3 separate regions of the Homo sapiens genome follow, and all the other regions are linked to region 1. The links are contacts of gene promoters, found by promoter capture Hi-C in blood cells and fetal thymus (Javierre and others, 2016). All regions are on one chromosome and are shown on one strand. The core of a region is centred on a gene start or on the middle of the fragment in contact, and the rest is flanking DNA. Distances in the headings are between cores, read along the strand shown.

Evidence for each region. The method cuts DNA at HindIII sites, captures the fragments that hold promoters and counts their contacts. A CHiCAGO score of 5 or more calls a contact.
Region 2: a fragment that was not itself captured here is called in contact with the fragment with the promoter of RNF182 in region 1 in 2 of 17 cell types (total B cells and naive B cells); the score reaches 5.5 in total B cells.
Region 3: a contact is called between a fragment that was not itself captured here and the fragment with the promoter of RNF182 in region 1, in 2 of 17 cell types (endothelial precursors and total B cells). The highest score is 7.4, in endothelial precursors.

The regions. Positions count from the first base shown.
Region 1 is chr6:13,922,555-13,927,541 of GRCh38, forward strand. It overlaps RNF182 (ring finger protein 182), which reads left to right and starts at 2,398. Exons shown (of 3, transcript NM_152737.4): 1 at 2,398-2,469. RefSeq lists an enhancer at 1,293-1,793. The HindIII fragment of the contact is 2,801 bases long and covers 1,823-4,623 here.
Region 2 is chr6:14,148,770-14,153,756 of GRCh38, forward strand. No RefSeq gene overlaps it. Among named protein-coding and RNA genes, the nearest start is that of CD83, 33 kb to the left of the region's middle. The HindIII fragment of the contact is 3,231 bases long and covers 701-3,931 here.
Region 3 is chr6:14,063,564-14,068,550 of GRCh38, forward strand. No RefSeq gene overlaps it. Among named protein-coding and RNA genes, the nearest start is that of CD83, 52 kb to the right of the region's middle. The HindIII fragment of the contact is 3,900 bases long and covers 583-4,482 here.

The sequences.
Region 1 (4,987 bases), core at 1,148-3,647:
CTCTAGATCTTTTTAGGAAAGCAAATTCATTATTTTAACCTCATTTCAAAAATGGTGAGAATAAGAAAGACTAGTCATGTATCCACACATTAATTTTTAAGCTTTAGTATCTTCAGTTTCAGTTTAGCTAAACAGACTAAAAGCTGCCACTTAACCTATTCAAATGATATCCCCTGGTAAGTAAGGTGGCACATTTTAAGATGGTTTCCTGACAAGTCTTTTAATTTTCTCCAAGAGGCAGAATGGAAGCAGACCTTAAGATAAAGCTAAACCTCTTTTGGAAAAATGAATGTCTGGAAGAATGTCTCACAGAATAACGCAGGACCAGGTCACTAAGCAATGCTCTAAGTGGGGACACAACGTGGACTTTTCCAAGCCTTCAGCTGAGGGCAGGGATGGCCAAGTCAATGGTCCCTCCCTGTTCTGTATTCAGTTTTTGATCAGGCAGTAATGTGCATGCAGGTCAACAAACATTTATTAAAGCTTTTTGTTTTTGCTTCTTCATTGATAAATTACTAATAAATGCTCATTTGAAAAAGCCAAACAAACCAAATATGTGTACTAAATTGTACATCGTAAGAGGTAACTGTCCCTTCAATTTTTTTTGTAGTTAACAGGTTACCACTTCTAGCAATTAGGTAGGCATTCTTATAGACCTTTATCCCTATGTTTTTGTTCTGTTCCTATATATCCAGTTTTTTTGTACAGAATGGGATCACCCACACATACGGTTCTGAGCCCCCCTTTTCCATTTAATAAGAAATCAATATCTATGAATTTTATATATTTTATTCTTATTAATGGATGCATAGTATTACATGGTATGAAGTGCCACATTATTTAACCATATCACTATTGATGGGCATATAAGTTGTTTCAAACATTTACTATTACAAAACTTCTGCAATGCATATCCTTTTATATCTATCATTACACATTTGTGTGTTTCTGTATGACAGATCTCTAGAATTGAGATAGCTGGGAGAAATGTATGTGCATTTTGAATTCTGGCAGGTATTGCCAAATGCTTAATGGCCTGCCAAAAAGACCTTGTCTTTTGACTTCATCTGGAATATTATTGACTTCATTCAGAATATTCCCATTACAAGAAAGTGGCCAGTCTCTCCGAGGAACAAACTGTTTTCCTTTTCCACCATGAAATAGATCTTATCTTTTCATTAGTTAATATAGGTGTACCTTCAAATGGCAATAACATTGTTCTGCTTTGTGGCTTCTCAAGTAGTAAACCCAGAAAACATCAGCTACCGTGGATTTTATTATAAATCATTGACATTCCTTTGGTGATTCACAAATGCCAAAAAATAAATGTCATGTTCCCCAGGGTTTGAAGAAAGACACTGTAGCTTTTGGATTCAGCAACGGATCTTTCAAGAAAACAGTATGGAGGGATGACTCACTCCCCCCATGGAGGCTGCCCTCTAGTTCGTCCTTTAGAGGAAGCATGACCAAGGGTCTGCTGGTACTTTTCTCTCCCTCTCTAAGAATTTCCTCAGGAGAGGAAAAAGTTAGCTTTCTTTTCTCTGCTCCTGAGTGCCATGGCCTGCAGTACGTGACCAGTCCTTGGCACAGAGTCACTCAGGGCTCATGGTAGATGCTTAGCGGTCACAGCCAGTAGCTGCGCAGTGTGGCAGCAGCTGAGATCCATACTGCAGCCTGAAAGTTGTGTTTCAGCTTCTGAGGTTACAAGTGTATCCAGTGTTTACATCAGAGATAAAGCCCCCTTTCCCCTCTCTCCTACGGGAGCCCTCAACAAGACAGATACACGGGTTGGGTGGAGTGAGACCACATCCAGCAGAGGCAAAGCTTGCTAAAAGAGAGAGGAGGAGGAGGGGGAGAGGGAGGAGGCGGCACGGCGTCCCTTGGCAGCTCCGTGCATGCTGCGGCAGTTGCAACAGGAGAACCGAGTACCAGTTGCTCAACACTTTATCACTTTGCATTGCTCTTTCTCCTCCCTTAAGTGAATTTCCATTTTGAGGGTACAGCTCCACAGGAGAAAGGTGTGGTGGTGGTAGTGGTGGAGGGTGTCTGTGGGGGGGATGGTGGTGCGACGGGAGTTGGAATGTCCAGTGTGGGGAAGCAAAGGAGTGCCTACTAGGATGCGAATACCACTTGGCCCTGGGCTCGCTCCGCTTTAGCCTTCCCCTCTCGCTGGGGAGAAACAGGCGGTTTGTGAGGGAGACTGAGAGAGGGGCGTGTTTGTGGTGGTGGCGGCCCATCGGGGGTCCTTGTCCTCTCCGAATACCCGGACTGCTGAGGGGAAGGGCCGGGGGGGCCCCGGCGGTTGCCATGGTGACGCAGGGTCGGCGGCTCAGCGCCGTAGAGACAAAGCCGCCCGCCCGCCAGCCCGCTAGCTCCTCGCGCGAGCTCCTCCTCCACGGGAACCTCCCTCCCCTCCCAGGCGCCGCCGCAGCCGGAGCGGCTCCCGGGCCCTGGGCCGCCGCCGGCCAGGTAAGGCGATCGCGCCCGCGGCCGGGGAGGGGTCGGCGGGACGCCGGGCCTCCCCAACGCTGGGGCAGCAGCCAGCCCCGCAGTCCTGGACGGCGCCGGGCCGCCCAAGCGCGCCGAGGAGAGGGGGCGGCAAACTTCGGGCCGAGCGGCGCCGGGGCCCGCGCGCGGAGTCTCCCTCCGGGCACCACGGGGGCCGCCGTCCTGGCACCAACTTGAGGGGCTGTGCGGCGGAGGGCGGCTGCGGAGCGCCCGCGCGGGCTGCACCTGCTCAGGGAGCTGCCCCTCTGTTGTTGTTGTTATTTTCCTTCTTGGCGTGCCATCGAGGCTTTTGGGGGAAAAAAAGGTATGAAAGTATTTACCTTTGGACTTTCATGTTTCATGGCATTCTCTTTGAGGAGGGGTTGGGAGGGTAGTAAGAGGGACAAGCGAAAGATTTTTACGAATCTCTGAAAAGTGAGCCCATTTTTATGCCTGTGGCTGAAGCATTTTGAGGAGGCTTCTGAAGTTCGTTTGGATATTGAATCGAAAGACCTTTTTTTCTTTGGAAGGTGCAGTTGCACCTATAACTGGATGGTAAGGGTAGCCCGGCTTTCCCCGACTAGCAAGACCAGAATGTAGAGCAGTACCGATACTTTGTCAAGGAGATACTTGGCACCGAGGTCATTGCTTTTGTTTCTAGAAGGTATTGTGTTCATGCTGTAAGGAACTGGAAAGTGCCTTTTGTTTTTATGTGTAGGGAGGCAATCCAAAGCACCTCTGGAGGCAGGTAGCTGGGCGGTGTTTGCATCGGTGTTTATGAGTGGGATGATGAGGACCACGATGCGGTTGCCACTGGGGCACTGGATAGGTTATAGGTACCTTTCTCAGTGGCCCCAACCCTTGCAATCATTTCGTGATAGTTTGTTGCAGACGCGAAGCACAGATTTAAATTGTGACTGTGAAGACTTTTTTTTTTGGTACTTAGACATCATCTTACATGTAGTAATATGAAAGAAAACAGATACATTTTCAGAAATACAGTTGATCAATTCAGAAGGAAATTGTATATATGTTAATAAGATTTGTTTTAAATCATATTTAAACAATATGAGATGTCATATTGATAACTGGAAAATAATCTAACATATAAAATTGTATATCCAACTTAGTAAAATAATGTATAAGTTGGAATAGGTCATTTAAAGAACTATATGGAATGCAAGAAATTATATTTTTGCTAGAGAGTAATTAATGAAAACAGTACCACTGATCATTTTGAATTGCAGTTAAGTTGATTGGAATTCTGCATATTACAGCTACTTGAGGTGTCAGGCAAAGAGTGATTATTTAATATTCCTCTTCCCTCTTTTGGGATTTCAACACCTGTTAGCCTGCTGATTACTAGGTTTCTCAGTCTGTTCATATTTGCCAGCAACTTCAAGTAATGCCACTTCATTAGAAGATTGTATTGGAAACTAAAGGATTGAAGTTGCAATTAACAGTTTGCAGGTTATTTCACAATTGGGCTTGTTTTTAAACTGAATTTTACCTGTGGAAGATTCACAGATGCTCTGCTAAATACTCTTTCATGACGGTAATAAAATCGTACATTGATTAAAACGAAGTAGATCTGTTTTGAGAAGATAAACGGGAGAGAAAAGTATTTTCTCACTTAAGCATGAACAGCAAATAGGATATTGAAGCCTAGGCACATTATATAGACAGAGAATGTAGTTTTATGTTTTGTACTAAAAATAAATTATTTTGTGTGTTTGTGTGTGTGTGTGTGTTTTTTTTTTTTTCCTGAGGGACCAACAGAACAGCTTTATTCAGATCTTTGTTAGCAAAACCAGTATTCAAGTTCAAGGACTTGGTCCGTGCTTTCTGCCAGATGAAACCCACACTGTGAGTTCTAGCCTAAACATTTATGTTGTGGCCCTTAATCTGAGTGCTGAAGAACGGAGATATCCATGGTGAATTTAGCACAGTAAGGACCGGTGCTTTGCCTTTGCTGCTAGCTCACACGGGCACAACATTCAATATAGTTTGGCTTCTTCAGAGCTGCATCATTTTCTGCCAAAAAATAAAGTCGGTATACAGAAATCAACAATCATGTATTGCATGCACTGCTTGGTTGTAGTGGCTTATTAATAAGAGCTCCGAAGCATGAAATGAAGCTTGTGTCAGTGCAGTGGAAAACAATAATCTGGCATGTTTATATGTGTTACTAGTGTTCTGAGGTATGTGCATAACCAGATAATGAAAGAAAAAATACTATGATATCTGCAATATGTCCTTAGAAAATGCAAACAGCAATTGTGTTTTCTGTCCATGGTTTAGCCACCTGGTGGAAGCAGGCAACAGCATTGCATATCCCCAGGTGTAAAATACTAGTCATCACTCTTGCTGATTCACGGGAGTAGGAGTCTTTTCCTGCATTTTAGCTTACGGGTTTTAATTTTATGACGTAAAATTGGTCCTAATTTTTGGTATAAGCTGTAAAATATGGCCTGATAATTGTCACCATAGCTGTATTCTA
Region 2 (4,987 bases), core at 1,066-3,565, 230 kb after region 1:
CGGGGCACCAGCCCCTGCCCTCTGACCTGCCTGGTAGCCTCGAGCCTGGAGCTTGTCCATGTCATCCCCCAAATAAGACCCCTGCATATCCTGGTGGCAGTGGGCATGGGGACCAGTTACCCCACTGGACAAGTTGGGAAGTCTTACTGCCTCTTTTGTGACATCTAATCAATCTTCCTGATTGATTCAATGCCCTGTCTCCCACCTTCAATGACACTCTAGCGGGGCCTGTAATTCGTGAATCTGTCTGGGGTTCTAGAGAGCAGATGAGCTTATTTAGCATCGGTAACCCCTTTGCTGCAAGCACTCACAACTCTCTCAGTTTTGCTAACATCCTTGTTCTGACTTCATTTTTCTCTTCTGTAAAATGATAAAAAATTTTACATTATTTTCAGTTCTGTTAAAGGAGTGGAATGAGCTAATCTCTCAGGTGACTTTTAAGCCCAGGATTATTTTATGATTAGTCAAGGAACTTAGGTTTGGGGAAGTGTTGCGTTAAGTTTCTCTTTCTTTTTTAGTTGACTTTGGTCAGAGAGGGATCGGGGATTGTTGGCACAAGGAAAAACTGGCAAATTAAGGTACATTTATTTTTAGGTTAAAGTCAAATGTTGGTTGTACGTATTAATCTTTTTTATGATTCTCCATGTTAATAGGCATTTTAATTAGTTGACTAATGACAATGATAGTGTGTTGGATAAGAAGCTTTGTGAAAGGAAGCAACCAGGGATTGACACTAGAGAACAGAAGGACCCACTTAACAAGGCGTGAGTGATGTCACCCTCTTGTGGAGGCAGTAACCACATTACCTGCATCTCCTCCGTGACTTGGTAGGTAATGGTGTAAGGTTCAGGGACAGATGTTATTTGGACCAATTAAATAGCTTAGAATCCTTAAAAAAGACCAAGTTTTCATTATGCTTTCCAAGAGTGGACTGTAATTTTTATTTAAGTACACACAAACCACAGAAGTCTGAACTGTACTACTAGTCAATGTATGTAACTGTTCTTTGGCAAATGGGACATCGCCCTAAATTGCTACTTAGGGGGCCATGTGCAGCCACTGCTGGCAGCAACAAGTCACCGGGCAGCGCTTTCCTGGCAAGCGGGGAAGGGATCTTAGCACTGCAATGATTTTGGAAAGGAAAATGAGCAGATGTGCCCCCGCCTGACTCCCCGCTTGCCTTGGGACTCATTTGCACATTCTAGGGGCTTGGATACCCTAAGGCACACAGTTGCTTTTGGTTAATTGTTATTACTGCATGTGTAAGGAGAACTCTGGGTAAAATTGCCAAGCCTTGCGCCTGGCCCCAAACTGGAAAAATCTTTCAAACAGAAAATGAAGTTTAGTTTGGCAGCCTCATAGATCATTAGCCTGAAAATGTACACTTGGCCTGGCTGGTAGGTTGGAGGAAAGGAAACAGGACTATGCAGGGTTTGCATGCTCTGCCCAATGAGGCCAGCCTCCTGGCCCATGGGCCCCATAGAACCCAGGCCTGACCGAATCTCTGCTTGGGACCAGGTGTTCCTACCCTATCGTTTTGCTGTCAGGGGAAGGGCTGGTCCTCCCTGGTGGTATCTCATTTGCCCAGCATGAGCATTATGCTCTGTTGGATGGTACACTTTGTCTATTCGGTTCATGCTCCTCCCATGGCTGTGCCAGCTCCACCTGACTGCCTCGTTGCCCATGACCTTGGCCTCCCTTCTGACTCTTACTACCCCTACACAATCAACACCAGGACATTGAACATGGACACAGCTGTGGTTTCTTCTTCCATCTGAGGCCCTCCTTCACAAGCCTGGGACCCTGGAGGATTTTATCTGATTTGTTGCACAGCTCTCATGCATGCAGTTAACCTAATTTCTGACGTGGCTCAATTTCATCCCATGTGGAAGGAAATGTGCCAATCTTTGGACCTCCACAGCTAGGTTTGGGAGCATGTTGATATCACTGATGATGTGTGGGTTACTCAGATTTATGTGGCAAGTTTGCTTGGTAAGCCAAACCATTGGGGGCACAACCCCCTGCTCTTTCCAAACTGTGACCAAAACTATCTGCATCTCAAGGTGTTCTTTGAGCAGAGGTTATCTACTCAAGCGAGGGTTCATGCAAACAAAAGTGTCAGTCACAATGTTGACTCTGTATGAGGGAAGGGGGGAAGTAGGGGGAGATGCTGGGGTCTTGGGGGCAGAGCAGATGGGGACTGACAGCCTGAAGGATAAGAAAGGAGAAGGGAGGATTCCAAAGAGTCAAAACAGACTATTCAAAAATCGATTTCTTGGATTTTGTGTTGCCATAGCTCAAAGGGGAGCTGAAAAAAGTGGATGAGGGGTGGCCATGCCTTTGGGGTCAAATATGTGGAGTCTGAATCCTAACTGTGCTGGTCACTTACTTTGAGATATGACTCTGTACCTCAGTTTCTTCTGTTGTTGCCACCATGAAGACTAAACAACCCATCCTCACGTTTGCTCACTGGCACTTCTGGGAGTCTGTTTCAAGGCGTGGAGTGGGCATCATTGCAAGATCATGATGACAAGAGTTTGAGTCCAGGGTTGTGTGAGCTCACTGCAGTCCCTGGAGGGGAGATGCTAGGACTTCAGCAGGCACAGGAGAAGGGCATCATGTGCCTATGGACTGGAACAAATAGAGCATGAGCAAGTAATTTAAGAGAAAATAACTTAGGAGGAAATCCAAGTCGAAGCCAGGCAGGCTATCTTTTTCTTTCCCTTCCTTCCTTCCTTCCTTCCTTCCTTCCTTCCTTCCTTCCTTCCTTCCTTCCTTCCCTCCTTCCTTTTTTTTGAAAAGGAGTTTTGCTCTTGTTGCCCAGGCTGGAGTGCAATGGCATGATCTTGGCTCACCACAACCTCCGCCTCCCGGGTTCAAGCAATTCTCCTGCCTCAGCCTTCCAAGTAGCTGGGATTACAGGCATGCACCACCATGCCTGGCTAGTTTTGTATTTTTAGTAGAGACGGGGTTTCTCCCTGTTGGTCAGGCTGGTCTCAAACTCCTGACCTCAGATCTACCCACCTTGGCCTACCAAAGTGCTGGGATTACAGGCATAAGCCACCGTGCCCAGCCCAGGCAGGCTGTCTTAAGGAGCAGAGTATATTGTGTTTACTGGATCTTTCCAAATAGGGCCCCAGCAGCTAGACACTGAATGCAGATGCCCTCTGAGCAATGAATAATGGAGCACCACACTTGGATCTGGGCATTTAAACATTTATTAATACAGGACATTCCCCCTCCTCCTCCCCCTTCTCCTCTTCCTCCTCCTCCTCCTCTTCCTCCTCCTCCTTCTTCTTCTTCCTCCTCCTCCTTCCTTCTTCCTCTTCCTTCTTCCTATTCCTCCTCCTTTTCCTCCTGCTTCTGCTTCTTCTCTCTGTCTTCTTTCTTTTTTTTCTTCTTTTTCTTCAGCAATTGCCTTATTCTTTGGGATCAAATTGGTTAGAGATTATTTAAAGCTATATATGAACATATAATTGGCCACTTCTTCCTGATGTGGTAGTTGTGTGTTTGAATTTAATAATTCTAAATACAATATTTTATATTCAGCCCCACTAAATTTAATCTTGTTTGTTTTGATCTCTTGTTCCAACTTGCCAAGATCGTTTTGAGACTCAGCTCTGTCTTCCAATATATTATGTCACCCCCAGCTTCAAATTTGATATTCATGTTTGATAAACTTTAATTAACATAAATGTTGAAAAGATAAGGTTGGGATCTTCTACAAAATCTGTAGCATTCCATTAGATATCTTCCAGTTTAATATCAATCCTGTAATCCAATCTCTTTGGGTAATTGCAACCAGCCAGCTATTGATCATCTCACACAATATGTGGGATACACAATCTACTCCTCTTTAATGGTAACGGGCATGCTGCGTAGGCCAAGCCTTTACCTTCCATCCTGTCTGCACCGCATCCCTTCCAAGGGAAGCTTCTTTACCTAACCTCCTTCTCAGGCAGCCTGGGTTTATATTCTGTCATCACACCCCCTTGCTAGCTAACCCTGACTCCACAGCAATAATCCTATTAACTTTGGCCTAATGTAAAAAAACTGGATCAATCATATCCTCTAATTTTAAAATCTGAACTAGGAAAATAAAAAGAATTTTGTAATTTGCAAGTGATCGGGAAGTGAATGGATATTGTGGGGTTAAGGTGGGGCTGAGGCAAGCCAAGGCTTCTTTCTTTCTGGAGAGAGACAGACAGAGATAAGGAGGAGGTTTTGGGCTTCTTTTGTATCTTAGATTACCCTGAGAATCTTACAAAAGCTACAGACTCCCCTTGCAGAGAAATGCATAAATGAACAATTTGCTTACAGTTTTAAGATGTTTATAGACCTTCCAAATTTTGGAGAAATTGGCCCTAGAGAAGAGATAATAAAGTCAATACTGTGAAAATGAAGAGGATATACAGAAATAAATAGGGTTGGAGAGAGATGGATACCCCCAGACCTGCCTCATTTGCTGAGGTCTCCGGGTCTGATCCAGACCCTTCCACAAAACCTCCCTTCTCTTGAGATAAATTGAACGAGTCCCAGTTACTGCAGCTAAAGGTGCCTGCCTGAAATAATCAGGTCAACATCTACTCAGTCATTGGAGTCCTAAACCCTAGAGTCCTATCTCTAACTCCAGACATCACTTTCCAAAGCTCTGTGCTTGCCCCATGACCCTTCTTACTGTGCTGATATTCTGGGGTGAACCCATCCCTCTGTATCATTTATTTGCCTGTATCCTAATGATTTCTATACCCCTAGCCCAGAATGCTCCCCAAACCTTGGACTCAAGTATCCAACCACCAGCTGAACATCTCTACTTGGTTGTCCCATAAATAATATAAATGCAACATGTTCGAAACTGAACTCATAGCTTCCTTACAGACAACAAAAGAAATAAGCAACAATTTAAAAAGGCTCACACAACGGGTCTTCTCTATATATGCTTTGTGTGTTTGTTTGTTTGTTTTGTCAACAGTATCCATTCCAAGAA
Region 3 (4,987 bases), core at 1,283-3,782, 140 kb after region 1:
TATGATCATCACTGCACTCTAGCCTGGGCAATGGGGTCTCAAAATAAGCAATAGAAAATAAGAAGAAGGCACAGTCTTTCCTCCACAGTATCTAGAAAGCAAAAAATAAACATATTTCTCAGCTAATAAACTACACAGCAATCTTGAGATAATATATTTTCAGCTTTCCACATTAATTAATTGGTTAACCTCTAAAGCAAGTTGGTATTCTTCCTAACATCTTTTGGGGAAATGACAAAAGCAAATTCAATTTAGAATCTTATAAACTTTTATTCTTTTTTGTTGGTTTGGCACAGACACATTTCTTTTTTCTTTATAACTTCTATTATTCTCTTGGAAGGGCCAGGTTTTCAAATCAGAGGCTGACATCACAGTTTGCAGCTCCTGCCAAACAAAAGTTTCCGATGGAGAATATTTGCAAATTTGACCACTGATTTAATTAAAAACGTTCCCAAGAAGTGTAAAAGAACAAGTTTTCAGATCTTTATTTGCAATTGTGAAGCAGTCTGGAAGCTTGAGCCGTGATATCTACCTTTAGTACTTCTTAGGAAGCTCAAAGCATGCAGCCTCCTGAGAGTGGAAAGCTTTCATCCTTTCTTTCCTCATTCAACCTCACCATTGCTTTTGGAAAGCCACATCTGCTGGAATATAGGGGTTAAAATTCTGTCTTCCCCTAGTCACAGGGGTAAAAATTTTCACAAAATTAATAATAATAATAATAATAATAAATAATGGGGGGCTGGGCATGGTGGCTCACGCCTGTAATCCCAGCACTTTGGGAGGCTGAGGCAGGAGGATCACCTGATGTCAGGAGTTCAAGAGCAGCCTGGCCAACATGGTGAAACCCTGTCTCTATTAAAAATACAAAATTAGCCGAGTGTGGTGGCACATGCCTGTAATCCCAGCTACTGGGGAGGCTAAGGCAGGAGAATTGCTTGAACCCAGGAAGCAGAAGTTGCAGTGAACCAAGATCATGCCACTGCACTCCAGCCTGGATGACAGAGGAATACTCATTCTCAAAAATAAATAAATAAATAAAGAATGGGAAGAGAAGAGAGAAGATAATTGAAGGACACCCAGAAACCTTTCCCATCATGTCAGAAATTTACCAGCTACATGAACATTTGCTTCCGAGACAGTATCTGCATGGATCATATCAACTGACTAATCTTCATGGGAATAATTCTTTTTGTAAACCTTTTTGCTTTCTAAGGAATCCACTTGAAAGAAAAGATCTTGGATACAATGGCCCCTTACTACAGTTCTGTGAGGTGTTACGGAAATGTAATCATATCCTCCATCAGTGATTTAAGGGAGTACAGTAGTGAATTATTTTGTAAAGTGTAGAATTTTCTTCCTACTTGAAGAGTCTCTCACTCACTTTTGATTTTTAAGTTTGGATTTTCATGTATTTGTCTCAAAGTCAGAGACATAAATCAACACATGACCCCAAAGGAATACTGGAGGACTACACAAGGGTCTCTGGCAGAGCAAATCTGTTCTGATTCCACACCACCCATCTTCACTCACGACAGAGTCGCAGCGTGGGACAGTGCCTCCGTTCCTATAAAGAAAGGCCACTCTCAGTGTGTTCGGCTGTGCTGTCATGCACTACTACACATATCCCAAGAACCCCAGATACTGAAAAAAGAGAAGTTGCTTTCCCAAAACAGAGTTTTTTCCTATGATCAGCTCATGATCATCTCTCTCCCTTTATCTTTCTTAACCCTAAAAAACCAGTTTTACTATTCATCCATCCTAACAAGGTAAATTAGCCAAGACCTTACCACACCTCCTTTACACTTTCATCTTCCCCCTTTTAGCTGCCTTTAGCAGCCTTATGGATGGGGTTTCACATCTCCCTATATTCTGTACAGGCTGTGTGTGTGCATGCATGTGTGTCCCTGTGTGTGTGTATCTGTGTCTGTCTCTGTGTCCCTCTGTGTGTATATCTGTGTGTTTCTGTGTCCCTGTGTGTATGTATCTATGTCTGTCTCTGTGTGTGTGTGTGTATCTCTGTCTGTGTGTGTGTGTATTTGTGTGTGTGGGGGGGGGTGGGTATGTGTGGTGTGTTTCTCTGTATTCCTTTTCATTTCTCCCTAGGTGGCTGTGCCCAGATCGCCTCTCTACTCCTTCAGATAAAAAGCAAAGGGCTTTGGGGAGGCTGAGGCAGGAGGTTCACTTGAGCTCAGGAGTTAGAGACTAGCCTGGGCAACATAGTGAGACCTCGTCTCTCCAAAAAACTTTAAACAAAAACTTGAAAAAGCAAAGAGCCTTGGGTAATAGTGACAGTAGTCACAGCTAGCGTCCACATGCAGCTTCCTGTGTATGCATCAGGCAGCTCATCACCTGTATATCTGTGGACCACTTTAATCCTCATCACAACCATACGAAGGTGGAACTATTAGTCTCATTTTACAGATGAGGAAATGGCTACGTAAACTCTTGTAAAGAAATCCAGACAAGGCCGGGTGCGGTGGCTCACACCAGTAATCCCAGCACTTTGGCAGGTCTTGGCGGGTGGATCACTTGAGGTCGGGAGTTCGAGACCAGCCTGGCCAAAATGGTAAAACCCCTTCTCTACTAAAAATACAAAAGTTAGCCAGGCATGGTGGTGCGTGCCTGTAATCCCAGCTACTCGGGAGGCTGAGGCAGGAGAATAGCTTGAACCTGGGAGGTGGAGGTTGCAGTGAGCCAAGATTGCACCACTGCACTCCAGCCTGGGCAATACAGTGAGACTCAGCCTCAAAAAAGAAAAAAAACAAAACAAACGGAAACAAAACAAAAAAGAAATCCAAAGGAATGAATAATGAACAATACACTGTCCCTCAAATGTGCTCTCCCCTCAGGCTCACGTTCTTCAGTATATACACATATGCTTACTATATGTGACTACTGTAGTACTATACATTACTACTGTGTCTTAGCTCATTCACCTTAGAGACAAATGGATAGTAAAATTATTTTTTTTTTAGAGTTAGGAAAGGAAAAAAGAAGAGGAGAGGGGTCATGAGTTGATTATATAAACAAACCTTGTTTTGAAGAAGTAGCTTCTCTTATCTCAATGTGTGTGTGTGTGTGTGTGTGTGTGTGTGTGTGTGTGTGAGAGAGAGAGAGAGAGAGAGACAGAGAGAGACAGAGACAGAGTATATGTAGAGCACAGGTTTGGAAAAATCCCTATACCATAAAATATTTCATTGCATCCTTCATGTAATGTATTCATGAGCCTGTAGCTTTCCTTCCTTCCTCCAAGGTAGTCACAGGGGACAACAGTCGTGAGTTGACCTGCTCACAGAGTGTCTAGATAGCGCTGGCACCCAGTAATCCCATTAAAATTTTCCTTAAGGTTCTCTTCCACCTCAAGCCTCAAGACTTGAAACTTGGCAGCCTGCTACCTGGTAAAGCACACATCTTCATGGTACATTACTGCCACCTAGAGCTGATATATTGAAACACAGATTCTAGATAAAGCAAAACTGAGAACAAAGCAAAATAAAAAGTCACGCCCAGCCCTGTCCTAAAGCAAGCTGTTTTAGTCCAAGCAGTTTAGATTAAAAATATAATGGACTTTAAGATGAAATTCCTTTCTTCAAGACGTCCAACTTCCTATCTCTGTAAGTGGGTTACCATCCAATAATATTCAAATTAAAAAGCTCAAATGTAGTAGCTGTCAAAATAAGGAAGAAGGAATTTGAGAGAGAGAGACAGGGAGAGAACATGTTTTGAAAAATAAACCTTTGCAGTTGTAGCCATCATTTGAAAGATGAGGAAACTGAAGCTCAAAGCTGTAACGGATTTCTTTTTTTTTTTCTTTTTTTGAGACAGAGTCTTGCTCTGTCTCCCAGGCTGGAATGCAGTGGTGTGATCTCAGCTCACTGCAACCTCTGCTTCCCAGGTTCAAGCGATTCTCCTGCCTCAGCCTCCCAAGTAGCTGGGATGACAGGCGCCCGCCACCATGCCAGGCTAATCGTTTGTATTTTTAGTAGAGACAGGGTTTCGCCGTGTTGGCCAGGCTGGTCTTGAACTCCTGACCTCAGGTGATCCACTTGCCTTGGCCTCCCAAAGTGCTGGGATTACAGGCGTGAGCCACCACACCCTGCCTGTACCAGATTTCTTGAGTTCAAATCACTAGCAAGCAGTTCTGGCAAGATGGAATACAGGGCTCTGGTTTTTTATTCCAAAATGAAATCATAACACAGAATCAGCGTAAGCCTTAACATAACTCCACAATTAGTGGTGGCCTTCCAACTGCTCCACCCACAGTCCTGGGGGGGGGTGTGTCCATGTGCTGTTCTGTGTGAAGGTCACCCTTGGTAAGATCTGGTGGCTTTGGGATTCATTCCTGGGAGCAGCGTTGGGTATACACCCATCTGTGCACATCCTCTCCGCCAACCAGCAGATGCTTGTCAGATAGTGGCTGAGGTTAGAGGGCAAAGTCTGTGAGTGGAGACCCTGATCTACAAGGGCAGAGACCATAAAACAAGCTTTATTATACCGTGTTCTCACCCACCATTCCTCAATCTGGGAGGTGTAAGGAAGCTGTTCTTGTTAAGTGAAGATGTGGCCCAGATGGAGGAAAGGAAGGAGAGTCTGTTTTGTGATCTTTCTTGTGCTTGGACGTCACTGGAGAAGTCTATAGACCTATTCTTAAAATAATGGTTTCAAATGCATAAAAGGAAATACATGGGATTGTAAAGGAAACCAATTATGGGCAAGCGAAGTAACCACATTCTTTAAAAATATGTGATATTATGTGTCTTAGTCATCTTGGCTACTATAACAAACAAGCTGCCCACAGACTGGGCGGCTTAAGCAACAGACAATGATTTCTTATAGATCTAGAGGCTAGAAGTCCAAGATTACGATGCTGGTGAGAGACAGGACTAGCTGGATTTCCTAGGCTGACTAAGAATCCCTAAGCCTAGCTGGGAAGGTGACCGCATCCACCTTTAAACACAGGGCTTGCAACTTAGCTCACACCTGACCA